4 separate regions of the Homo sapiens genome follow, and regions 2, 3 and 4 are each linked to region 1. The links are contacts of gene promoters, found by promoter capture Hi-C in blood cells and fetal thymus (Javierre and others, 2016). All regions are on one chromosome and are shown on one strand. The core of a region is centred on a gene start or on the middle of the fragment in contact, and the rest is flanking DNA. Distances in the headings are between cores, read along the strand shown.

Evidence for each region. The method cuts DNA at HindIII sites, captures the fragments that hold promoters and counts their contacts. A CHiCAGO score of 5 or more calls a contact.
Region 2: the fragment with the promoter of OR8U3 here is called in contact with the fragment with the promoter of OR5T2 in region 1 in 8 of 17 cell types (neutrophils, monocytes, fetal thymus and 5 more); the score reaches 9.1 in neutrophils.
Region 3: the fragment with the promoter of OR8U1 here is called in contact with the fragment with the promoter of OR5T2 in region 1 in 6 of 17 cell types (neutrophils, naive CD8 T cells, activated CD4 T cells and 3 more); the score reaches 8.6 in neutrophils.
Region 4: a contact is called between the fragment with the promoter of OR8I2 here and the fragment with the promoter of OR5T2 in region 1, in 5 of 17 cell types (monocytes, non-activated CD4 T cells, neutrophils and 2 more). The highest score is 7.5, in monocytes.

The regions. Positions count from the first base shown.
Region 1 is chr11:56,232,929-56,235,628 of GRCh38, forward strand. It overlaps OR5T2 (olfactory receptor family 5 subfamily T member 2), which reads right to left and starts at 1,327. Exons shown (of 2, transcript NM_001004746.4): 1 at 1,249-1,327; 2 at 1-336. The coding sequence starts at 134. The HindIII fragment of the contact is 5,726 bases long and covers 1-2,700 here.
Region 2 is chr11:56,416,928-56,419,627 of GRCh38, forward strand. It overlaps OR8U3 (olfactory receptor family 8 subfamily U member 3), which reads right to left and starts at 1,305. Exons shown (of 1, transcript NM_001004744.1): 1 at 331-1,305. The coding sequence starts at 1,305. The coding sequence ends at 331. The HindIII fragment of the contact is 8,358 bases long and covers 1-2,408 here.
Region 3 is chr11:56,374,251-56,376,950 of GRCh38, forward strand. OR8U1 (olfactory receptor family 8 subfamily U member 1) reads left to right here and starts at 1,374. Exons shown (of 1, transcript NM_001005204.1): 1 at 1,374-2,303. The coding sequence starts at 1,374. The coding sequence ends at 2,303. The HindIII fragment of the contact is 6,958 bases long and covers 1-2,700 here.
Region 4 is chr11:56,091,860-56,094,583 of GRCh38, forward strand. It overlaps OR8I2 (olfactory receptor family 8 subfamily I member 2), which reads left to right and starts at 1,449. Exons shown (of 1, transcript NM_001003750.1): 1 at 1,449-2,381. The coding sequence starts at 1,449. The coding sequence ends at 2,381. The HindIII fragment of the contact is 14,451 bases long and covers 1-2,724 here.

The DNA of each region.
Region 1 (2,700 bases), core at 77-2,576:
AAAATCAGTCCTAAATTTCCCATGAGAGTGAAGAGGTAGATTGCTAGAAACAGGAAGAAGAAGATAGTCTGCAGTTCAAGATTGTCTGTGAAGCCCTTCAGTACAAATAAGGTAACTTCAGTGACATTCTTCATGTTGAAATCTAGAACAAACTTGAAGATATGCATAAAGTTACAGTTCATATTATGACAAAAAGAATGAACAACACCATGACTCAAGGGGATGTTAACTGTGCTCTTGTATATACTGTACGACATATATTCAGCAGTGCATAATTCTCTAGTAGTGAATCAGAAGACAGTGACAAACTGGTCAGCCATGTGTTCATGCCACTCACTGCAGAATCAAATGGAAGAAATGGACGTTCATTAGTTGGCTGGACTTATTCTGTTTCTAAAATCATCAGGTCTACTGGTTAATTTACCACTGAATTGTATTAAGCTGTTTATATATTAAATAATATTAAAACACACAAAAATGAGTGGCTTAAACAATCTTTGGGCATCCAAATACACAAGAGACTGTATCAGGGGACAGAGCATTGGAATACAATACCAGAATTTTAGAACTTGTAGCAATTGTGCAAAATGATTTGCTATATCTACTTGTCTATAGAATGAGAACATTAATAGTTTGTTCACAAGATTGGAGTAAATATTGAAGGAAAATTGCATTAATAAAATATAATATGTAAAATAATTTTGATTATAGAATATGCTGAATTAAGTTGGTTCTACATTCTATCAAGATTAAATCCAATGAACAGTTATGATTTTTTTCATCTGCTCATTCAAATGTCTCTGAATTATTCTTTGGAGAATGAAGAAGTTTTGTGAATTACTTGATCATTTTATGCCAAAAATAAACATGCAAATTACCATGATTCCATTTTCTACATTACAATTGTCTTAATTTTGCTTTGTGCAAATAAGATACTTCAACCAAATTTCTTGTGAGACAGGCATTTCTACTAGATGCCAAAATAAGTTATATTGGGTAAAAATTAAGTTAATATTAGCACATAGTCAAAGATTCAGAGTTATAAAGAGAAAATCACTATGATTCTTGAAGATTTAATAATATAGAATCAACTTTTTAAATTAATGCAAATCTATTTTTATGAAACAAATTTTAATGGAAGGGAGAAAACTTTAAATATCGTGAATGTAATAACGAAACACTAAGTTTGCTAAATAACAGGCATTTATTTAGCACTTGCTGCAAGAACAGACATTTCTTGTACATTACCTTATTTCACCTTTATAGCAACTTTCATAGCTAACAATTTCCAGAGCCAAGATTCAATCCCAGGTTTCTCTCATTGTACATGAAATTTTTGCATTTTTTCATGGCCTCATAAATGGCTTCATTCTGCAACTGGAACACTCTTCCTCTTACCCCTCTGCTGACCTCAGGGAAATAAAGGTAAAGCAAAACATGATTCTCGATGTATTTGTATTTTTTAAGCCATTAAATCTAGAGAAACATAAAATAAGTAGCAATCTGAAGTGACTTCTAGATTATAAAGCCAGAAAATAAATTTAAAATAAGTATTGATTGTTTTCCTTATTACTTCAAAATACAAGACCCCAGATAAATGAATAAGTCAAATGTTTTTTTGCCCTTTGTTGATATTTATTGGTAAATTCATGACCTTTGAACTATCTTTATCTATAAGAAAAATACAAGCATATACTCTATTAGGAGCACTCTTATTTATCTCTATAAGTACAAATACAATATTTTCTATTTTTTATTGTTTTCTAGTAAGTGTTGGATTTTAATTCTTAGGCATAACTCTAAATAAATCATATTTTGATGAATACACTTGATTCACATATGTAATAGTCCAGAACTGAAGTGTTTAGTTCTTGGTGTTTAGCAGCTAAAAAGTTTAGTAAAAAAAAACATAGTTATTCTTGATATTGTAGGTTCTAGCTGCCGAAATATTCTTCAAATTATCTGAAATTTTCTCTTACCTGTGGAACAGCAAATGCAGATTTAGGTATTCTATGAATATGGCTAACTTAGATTGTTTATATCTTTGTAATTGACTGTTGATGAAATCCAAGGAGATGTCCCAAGGGGAATATGCCCCAATTATCTTCTGTTTCAAAATAGCACCATGATGATTTACTTAATAATAAAAAGTAAATGATTCCGGAATAAGGCACTGCATGCTCCTACTTATTGAATCAATAGAGTTCTTTGGCTTCTGTTTAAAATGTGTCAGATTTGAATTTCCCTGATGACTACTGATGTTGAACATCTTTTCATACATCTGAAGGCCATTTGTATGTCTTCTTTGGAAAAAAAATGTATTCAAGTCCTTTGCCAGTTTTAAAATAAGATTATTGTTATTGTGGCTATTGAATTTATATATTTTGATATTAATCCCCTATTAGATATATCATTTACAAATATTTTTTGTTTGGCTGATGGTTTTCTTCATTGTGCAGAAGATTTTGACTTTGACGTAGCCCTACTTGTCTAATTTTGGTTTTGTTACTTGGCTTTTTATGTCATTGCTTGTATTTTTATGTTACATCCAACAAGTTACTGCCAAGCTGAAGGTCCTAAAGTTTTTCCTTATGTTTTCTTCTAGAAATTGTAGTTTCAGGTTTTATGTTTAAATTTTTAATCCATTTTGGGTTGGTTATTTTATATGGTATAAGACAAGGGTCCAATTTAATTTCCCAT
Region 2 (2,700 bases), core at 55-2,554, 180 kb after region 1:
TCCAAGGTTGCAGAGCTAATATGAAGGAAATAGTGTTCAAACTCAATCTTGTTTCAGCATCCCAAACTCTAACAAAAACATGCTGCTGCCTTTGCTTTAAATACACCTATGAGTGTTTGCATATATGAGTGTGTCTCTGTTTGTATTTGAACGTGGTTTCAGTGGTCTGCCAAGACTGTGATGGCCTGAATTGAATGCTTTAATTCGTACTGATTTTTCATGATCTGCCTGGTTCTTGCAGAAAATGTCAAGGTCCATTAAAGTAACAGCTACATTTTCAGTTCATTGGGAAATAATTACAAGAAAAAGTTTGATTTATTTCCTGCTTGTTTAATAAAGTTTTCTTATTTTTAAAAATGTTAATATCTGTAAGTTTTCACAACCTTTATCCAAGGCTTTCTTTGAGGCATCTTTCACTTCTTTGTTCCTTAGACTATAGATTAGGGGGTTTAACATGGGGATCACCACTGTGTAAAATACAGAAGCCATCTTGTCTGTGTCCAAGGAGTGATTTGATTTGGGCTGTAGGTACATAAAGATCAGTGTGCCATAGAAAATAGTGACAGTCACCATATGGGAGCCACAGGTGGAAATGGCTTTGTGTTGCCCCTGAGTAGAGCGGATCCTTAGGATAGCGGCAATAATAAAGATGTAGGAGGTGAGGACAATGGAAGAGGAAGAGATCATATCAAAGCCAGCAAAGGCAAATATCAGAATTTCCTTCATGTGTGTGTCTGAGCAGGACAGAGCTAAGAAGGGGAGGTCATCACAATAGAAATGGTTAATTAAGTTTGGGCCACAGTAAGTCAGACGGAAAGTGATAACGGTGTGGAAGAGGGCAACCAGGAAGCTGTATATATATGGAACTGCCACCAGTTGAATGCAGACTCTTCTTGACATCAGTGTTGAATAATGCAGGGGACTACAGATGGCGACATAGCAATCGTAGGCCATGGAGGCTAGAAGGAAACACTCAGTGATCATGAAGGTGAGAAAACAACCCAGTTGGGTTGCACAAGCATGGAAAGGAATGGTGTTGCGTTCCACAACAAAATTCACCATCATCTTCGGTGTAATAGCAGAGGAGTAACAAAGGTCAACAAAGGCCAGGTGGCTGAGGAAATAGTACATAGGTGTGTGGAGTCGAGTATCAATCTTGATTAAAGTAATCAACCCAAGATTGCCCAGCACTGTGACCAGATAGATAACTAAAAACACCCCAAAGCACGGGGCCTGAAGCTCTGGCCGGTTGGTAATTCCTTTCAGAATGAATACAGTGACATAAATGATATTAACTTCAGCCATTTATCCTAACAGGTTTTGTAGATTTTGTCGCAGTTGAAAAATAAAAAAGATACTTCTCATGTTCCCTGTCAGTGTTGGGTAAAGGTGATGATTGTTGTCTTCTTGCCTTGAATCATATCATCATGTGGGCAAAAACATACATCTTACCTCTCTAATGACAGAGGCCAATCTTGCCTGAGGGAGGGGAGTCTTTTACTTGCAGAATAGTAAATAGACCACCTTAAGAAATATTTTGCTTTGTAATTTTAGAAAATAAGAGAAGATGTTGGTTAAAATTATATAGTATGAAACCGCTTGTGACAACTGACACTAATATTTCAATGTTTTTGCTGCCATTAAAAATCTTATATATTTTCCATGCATATATAACAGAACAAAAATATTGAATTTATAGACGTGACCACATTTATATTTCCTTATTTTTCGGTTTTGTGCGTGCTTCCATAAAATATGTCAAAAATAGATCAAAATAATTTTAGAGCTCCTATGAACTATTCAATTTGCTATATTCCTTCCCACATTTATATAGAATAAGTAATTTATGCTGTAGAAATGGAAAGAAATTTGATCAGAAATATGAGAAAGGAAACATTCAGTTGTAAAAAGTTTTATGGAAACATATACTGGTGGGTGGAGTTTTTGATGCATCTTTTAGGATAATTATAATTATTTGTATTTCTACCAGCCCTGAAAAAAAGAGGATTCATCTTGTTAAGCCCAATATTAGCCTATTTAAACTTTAATTTGGTCCTGGCTTTATTTTTCAAAAAATAGAATCATGAAATATTAACTAGAAAATGCTTTGAGAGATCATCATATCTAACCACTTTGTCTTTCATATTCCATTGATTAGTACTATTATTATTTTATCTATTGCAATTGAGTGATGTCCTTATCAGATATTCTGAGTGCATTACATGAATTAAGATAGTCTCTTGCTTACCCTATGAGGAAGGCTCTCACCCATAACTCCTTATAAACATTGGAAAAATCCGACTTTCTGGTGATGGTCACAGAGTATTAGTGTGACTATGTATAACTGACAGCAGAGCCCATATTTCTAATCATCCTTATGCTGCCCAAGTGTAGTGGTTTGTTCCTTAAGCTTTAATCGCCGGGATGGATGGAAGAACGAGGCTAAAGTGTCAAACTAAATGTTTAAAGCTTACAGAAGACAAACATGAAAACTGTAGTTTTCCAAAGATTGCTAAGTTTTCATATACTAGGTCAAAGTAAAATAGAAGACTCCTAAAACATATATATATATATATATATATATATATATATATATATACACACACACACACACACACACACAGATGCATAGACATATACATATATACATATATATTGCTATTCTCAGTAAATAACTGTTTCGTTCATGAATATTCAAAA
Region 3 (2,700 bases), core at 124-2,623, 140 kb after region 1:
GTGTAGGTTTTGAAACTGTGCTTGTAACTACTAGTAGATCTTAAATCCACTTTTTAGGATCCCAAGAAGCATTGTTTGAATTAAATAGAATGGAACAGATTACGCTAGAAAACGAAAGAATATGTAATACAAGCGGATGTCAGGGAAGCAAAAGTATTATTCTCAATATATCTATTAGTTCCATGCCATCTTATAACAAGTATTTATTTCTATAGTTTGTCATAAAAAAGTTTGAGTCTGAAAGTTAGTCTTCTTGAGAAGGGTTTGGTCTGAGCAGTGCAAAGACCAAAAATTCTCTTTTTACTTACCTCCCTTTTCTCTTTTCTTTTTCCTATTTTAACTCAAAATTGACGTTCAGTTTTTAACATGCAATTAGAGATTTGGAATTTATGGGTTCCTATGTCCTTATCCATCAATTTCCATGTTGCTATAATTAGACATTAATGTTCCATCTGTATTAGGGTTTTAGGATATCTAGTATATACTTACATATTGCATATCTAATATGTATCTTATACATATAATAAATATAATTTATTTAGAATAAAATTAAGGTAAATAAGTATTTTTTGAAAGTTACTACTTACCACATTATGTTGCTCAATAAATATGTTTATTAATACAAAACACAAATAACTGAAATGGATTCTTTGATTAATTGAGCAGAAGTAAATACTCAAGAGCTATTAGTAAACTCTGAAGAACAGTGAAGAAACACAGGCTCTTATTTTATTTATATATTTATTTGCATAGTAATTTTCAAAGCGTGAAATTTATAAGTTTTTAAGGAAAGCTCTATTTTCCATTACTAGATATAATGGTGGGAGAGAGAAGAAAGAGGAGTTGAGAGACATGATATTTGATACTATTTGGGTATTCAATAATTCAATTTTAAAATTATCCAAAATGAATAAGAAAATGATGATACACAACATTAAATAGAGTAGGAAAACAAAAATTAATGCAAAAAATGTAATTAAATCAGTTTTTTAATAAAAGATAAAAAAGCAGACATAAACTGAATGTAAAGAAACATAAACTTCCAAATCTCTTAGAAAGCAAATATCAATTTTACTCTAATTTACAGGATAAGATTATGTGAGGATTCATTCCCTACATTCATGTAAGTTCATGCTTTAGATATAAAGATGTTTATACGGTGTTATATTCTTTTTGCTCTCCATCACATTTCCAGAATTCCAGTATGCTAACAATCATTATATTAGTTAAATAAATTAATAAATAAATCTAATTAATTAAACTCTTTACAATACAATAAATATAAAAACACCACATATAGGATTTACAGTATTAAAATATGACTTAGACTTAACTCTTTTCTCTACTTCCACATTTAGATGGCCAGAAAAGATATGGCTCACATCAATTGCACCCAGGCGACAGAGTTTATTCTTGTGGGCCTCACAGACCATCAGGAGTTGAAGATGCCCCTCTTTGTGCTATTCTTATCCATCTACCTCTTCACAGTGGTAGGCAACTTGGGTTTGATCCTACTCATTAGAGCGGATACAAGTCTCAACACACCAATGTACTTCTTTCTTAGCAACCTAGCTTTTGTGGATTTCTGTTACTCTTCTGTCATTACACCCAAAATGCTTGGGAATTTCTTGTACAAACAAAATGTTATATCCTTTGATGCATGTGCTACTCAACTGGGCTGCTTTCTCACCTTCATGATATCAGAATCCTTGCTACTGGCTTCCATGGCCTATGACCGATATGTGGCCATTTGTAACCCTCTATTGTATATGGTTGTAATGACTCCAGGAATCTGCATTCAACTTGTAGCAGTTCCTTATAGCTATAGCTTCCTAATGGCACTATTTCACACCATCCTCACCTTCCGCCTCTCCTATTGCCACTCCAACATTGTCAACCATTTCTATTGTGATGACATGCCTCTCCTCAGGCTAACTTGCTCAGACACTCGCTTCAAACAGCTCTGGATCTTTGCCTGTGCTGGTATCATGTTCATTTCCTCCCTTCTGATTGTCTTTGTCTCCTACATGTTCATCATTTCTGCCATCCTGAGGATGCATTCAGCTGAGGGAAGACAGAAGGCTTTCTCGACGTGTGGCTCTCACATGCTGGCAGTCACCATATTCTATGGGACCCTCATTTTTATGTACTTACAGCCTAGCTCTAGCCATGCCCTGGACACAGACAAGATGGCCTCTGTCTTCTACACAGTGATCATTCCCATGTTGAATCCCTTAATCTATAGCCTCCAGAATAAGGAGGTGAAAGAAGCTCTGAAGAAAATCATTATCAATAAAAACTAGAGTTTTGTGTTTATAAAATTAAGAAAGTAACTTGAGTAAGGAAAAATGGACTTCTTTCATGGTATGATTTTTTTCCCAGTATAAGTTATCAGGATCCTTGTTTCTCAATATGTGATGTATACATATATTTTCGCTGTGTAATACAATTTTCTAGAGAATTTCTCTTAGAACGTTAGGTATAAAAGTAACTATAAGAATTTACAACACTTCTCTTATTTTTCAAGTGGAAAATATATTAAAATTATTAATTTTCTTGCATAATATTTTATACCAATTTTCCTATTTCTCAAATGAAGAATGCATAAAAAGTCATCATCAAGATATATAATTAGTTATGTGCAGAGCACAGACAAAAGTTAACTCCTCTCCCCGTCCATCCCCAGTTCAGGATTCTGAA
Region 4 (2,724 bases), core at 199-2,698, 140 kb before region 1:
TCTAGCCTATCAATGAAAGGTAATATATACAGTACCTAATACTATCATCAAAACCATCAACATTTTTTCATCAACATCATAACATTTAGGGTCCATTATACAGGAAATAGAGCTCTATACTAAATAACAACTTTTGTTATTTGATATTTAGCATTGTAGATGAGGCAAAAATAATGAACTTGAAAATAAGTGAAAGATTGCTGAAACATAGGATGTTTCCTCTGGGTGACTGAATCCCAGGTACATCTAATTTTCTCATCTGCTTTTTCCTAAAATTTGTGTGTCTGTCTGTCTGTGAGTATAGTTTGCATGTTTCTCACATTGGGAAACTTGTTATTTTTTTAATGTCTGCATCTTACATTAGGCTTTAAGAAAAATGCCCTTCATGACAGGCAAGACAAAATGCCTTCATTGAATAAATGCTTGTCAAGTAAATGAATGGATAAATAGGAACACTGTGACCATGGAACACATTAAATGATTAAGTACATGTGATATATAATAAGAATAATATGTTATATTATTATTATTGATAATAATTATTATCAAGTCCCATTTGGTTACTCAAGGAGAGTGCTAAATGTCTAAACAAAGGTGATTATTTAACTTTGCTTGGCGGGCTAGTTTCAAATGCATTTATTCGTCATATATTTATGTTAAGTTAATTAGGCAATAAAGTTCTTTAGTTTCTAGCATGCCCACCTTATAATTTAATTCTTATTTTTAAATGTAACAAATCAGGTTTGTTTTACTGTTTTTAACATTTATTTATATCATTGTCTTAAAAACTGCTGTTCAGCAATGAATTGGCTAGCACCTGATGTCATAGATTAATATATGCAATATATCTAGAAACAATCATGTTGTTTGAACAAACATACATGAAAGAATTTAAACTATGTTATAGATGAAGGCCCTCATTTGGTCTTATCTCACTGAATTTTTTATTAGATAAACTGCTCTATTCATTAGATACAATTCATTTTGTTAGATAACTTGCTATATTTATTAGATACAGATTGATTTCATTAGATAAGTTGCTATATTCATTAGATACAATTAATTTCATTTGATAATTTGCTATATTTGTTAGATACAATTGATTTCATTAGATAAATTGCCAGACCCAATGACAGACAGGGGTAGAGAATGGTACATCTTAGGAGGAATTTCTACACATCTTTCCAGACATGTATTTTTTAGTCTACACAATCGTGAATTTGAGTTTTTTTCTGTATTAATGTCTGTAAGTTTTCAGTTTTATAAAAAATAAAAATTATCCGTAAATCTCTAGCTAACTTCAGGTCATTAAATTTTACTTTCCATTTGTAAAACTTTCATGATTGGAGTCTAAGTCAAATTTGATTATAGGGCCTTTAGATTTGAATCCTTCTCTAACTTTCCTTATTGTTATTCAGCAGGTAAGTCAAAGGCCTGAGTTGATGTAAATGGCTGGCAACAATTTCACTGAGGTTACCGTCTTCATCCTCTCTGGATTTGCAAATCACCCTGAATTACAAGTCAGTCTTTTCTTGATGTTTCTCTTCATTTATCTATTCACTGTTTTGGGAAACCTGGGACTGATCACGTTAATCAGAATGGATTCTCAGCTTCACACCCCTATGTACTTTTTCCTGAGCAATTTAGCATTTATTGACATATTTTACTCCTCTACTGTAACACCTAAGGCATTGGTGAATTTCCAATCCAATCGGAGATCCATCTCCTTTGTTGGCTGCTTTGTTCAAATGTACTTTTTTGTTGGATTGGTGTGTTGTGAGTGTTTCCTTCTGGGATCAATGGCCTACAATCGCTACATAGCAATCTGCAATCCCTTACTGTATTCAGTAGTCATGTCCCAAAAAGTGTCCAACTGGCTGGGAGTAATGCCATATGTGATAGGCTTCACAAGCTCGCTGATATCTGTCTGGGTGATAAGCAGTTTGGCGTTCTGTGATTCCAGCATCAATCATTTTTTTTGTGACACCACAGCTCTTTTAGCACTCTCCTGTGTAGATACATTCGGCACAGAAATGGTGAGCTTTGTCTTAGCTGGATTCACTCTTCTTAGCTCTCTCCTTATCATCACAGTCACTTATATCATCATCATCTCAGCCATCCTGAGGATCCAGTCAGCAGCAGGCAGGCAGAAGGCCTTCTCCACCTGCGCATCCCACCTCATGGCTGTAACTATCTTTTATGGGTCTCTGATTTTCACCTATTTGCAACCTGATAACACATCATCGCTGACCCAGGCGCAGGTGGCATCTGTATTCTATACGATTGTCATTCCCATGCTGAATCCACTCATCTACAGTCTGAGGAACAAAGATGTGAAAAATGCTCTTCTGAGAGTCATACATAGAAAACTTTTTCCATGACAAATTTATGTATGTTACAATTAAAACAAAGGTGGATGGCTTCAGGAATTCAGTTATGCCAACAACTAGGAAAATAGTAGAGTAACCTCAAAAAGCATAACACAAACTAAATGAGAACTTAGAGTCTTGAAGTTTGTGAATTGAATTATTATTTCATTTGTTTATATGGACCACTAACTCACTGTATTTGGAGGTCAATTCGGCATATAAATTATTCAGACATAGACATGTACAAGGAAATAAGAGGCACCTGAACATGCATATATAAGCATGCCATCACACTGAAACATGTTTAAAATTATTACATTAAGAACATGCAATTTTTGTCATTCTGTGCCCAGCT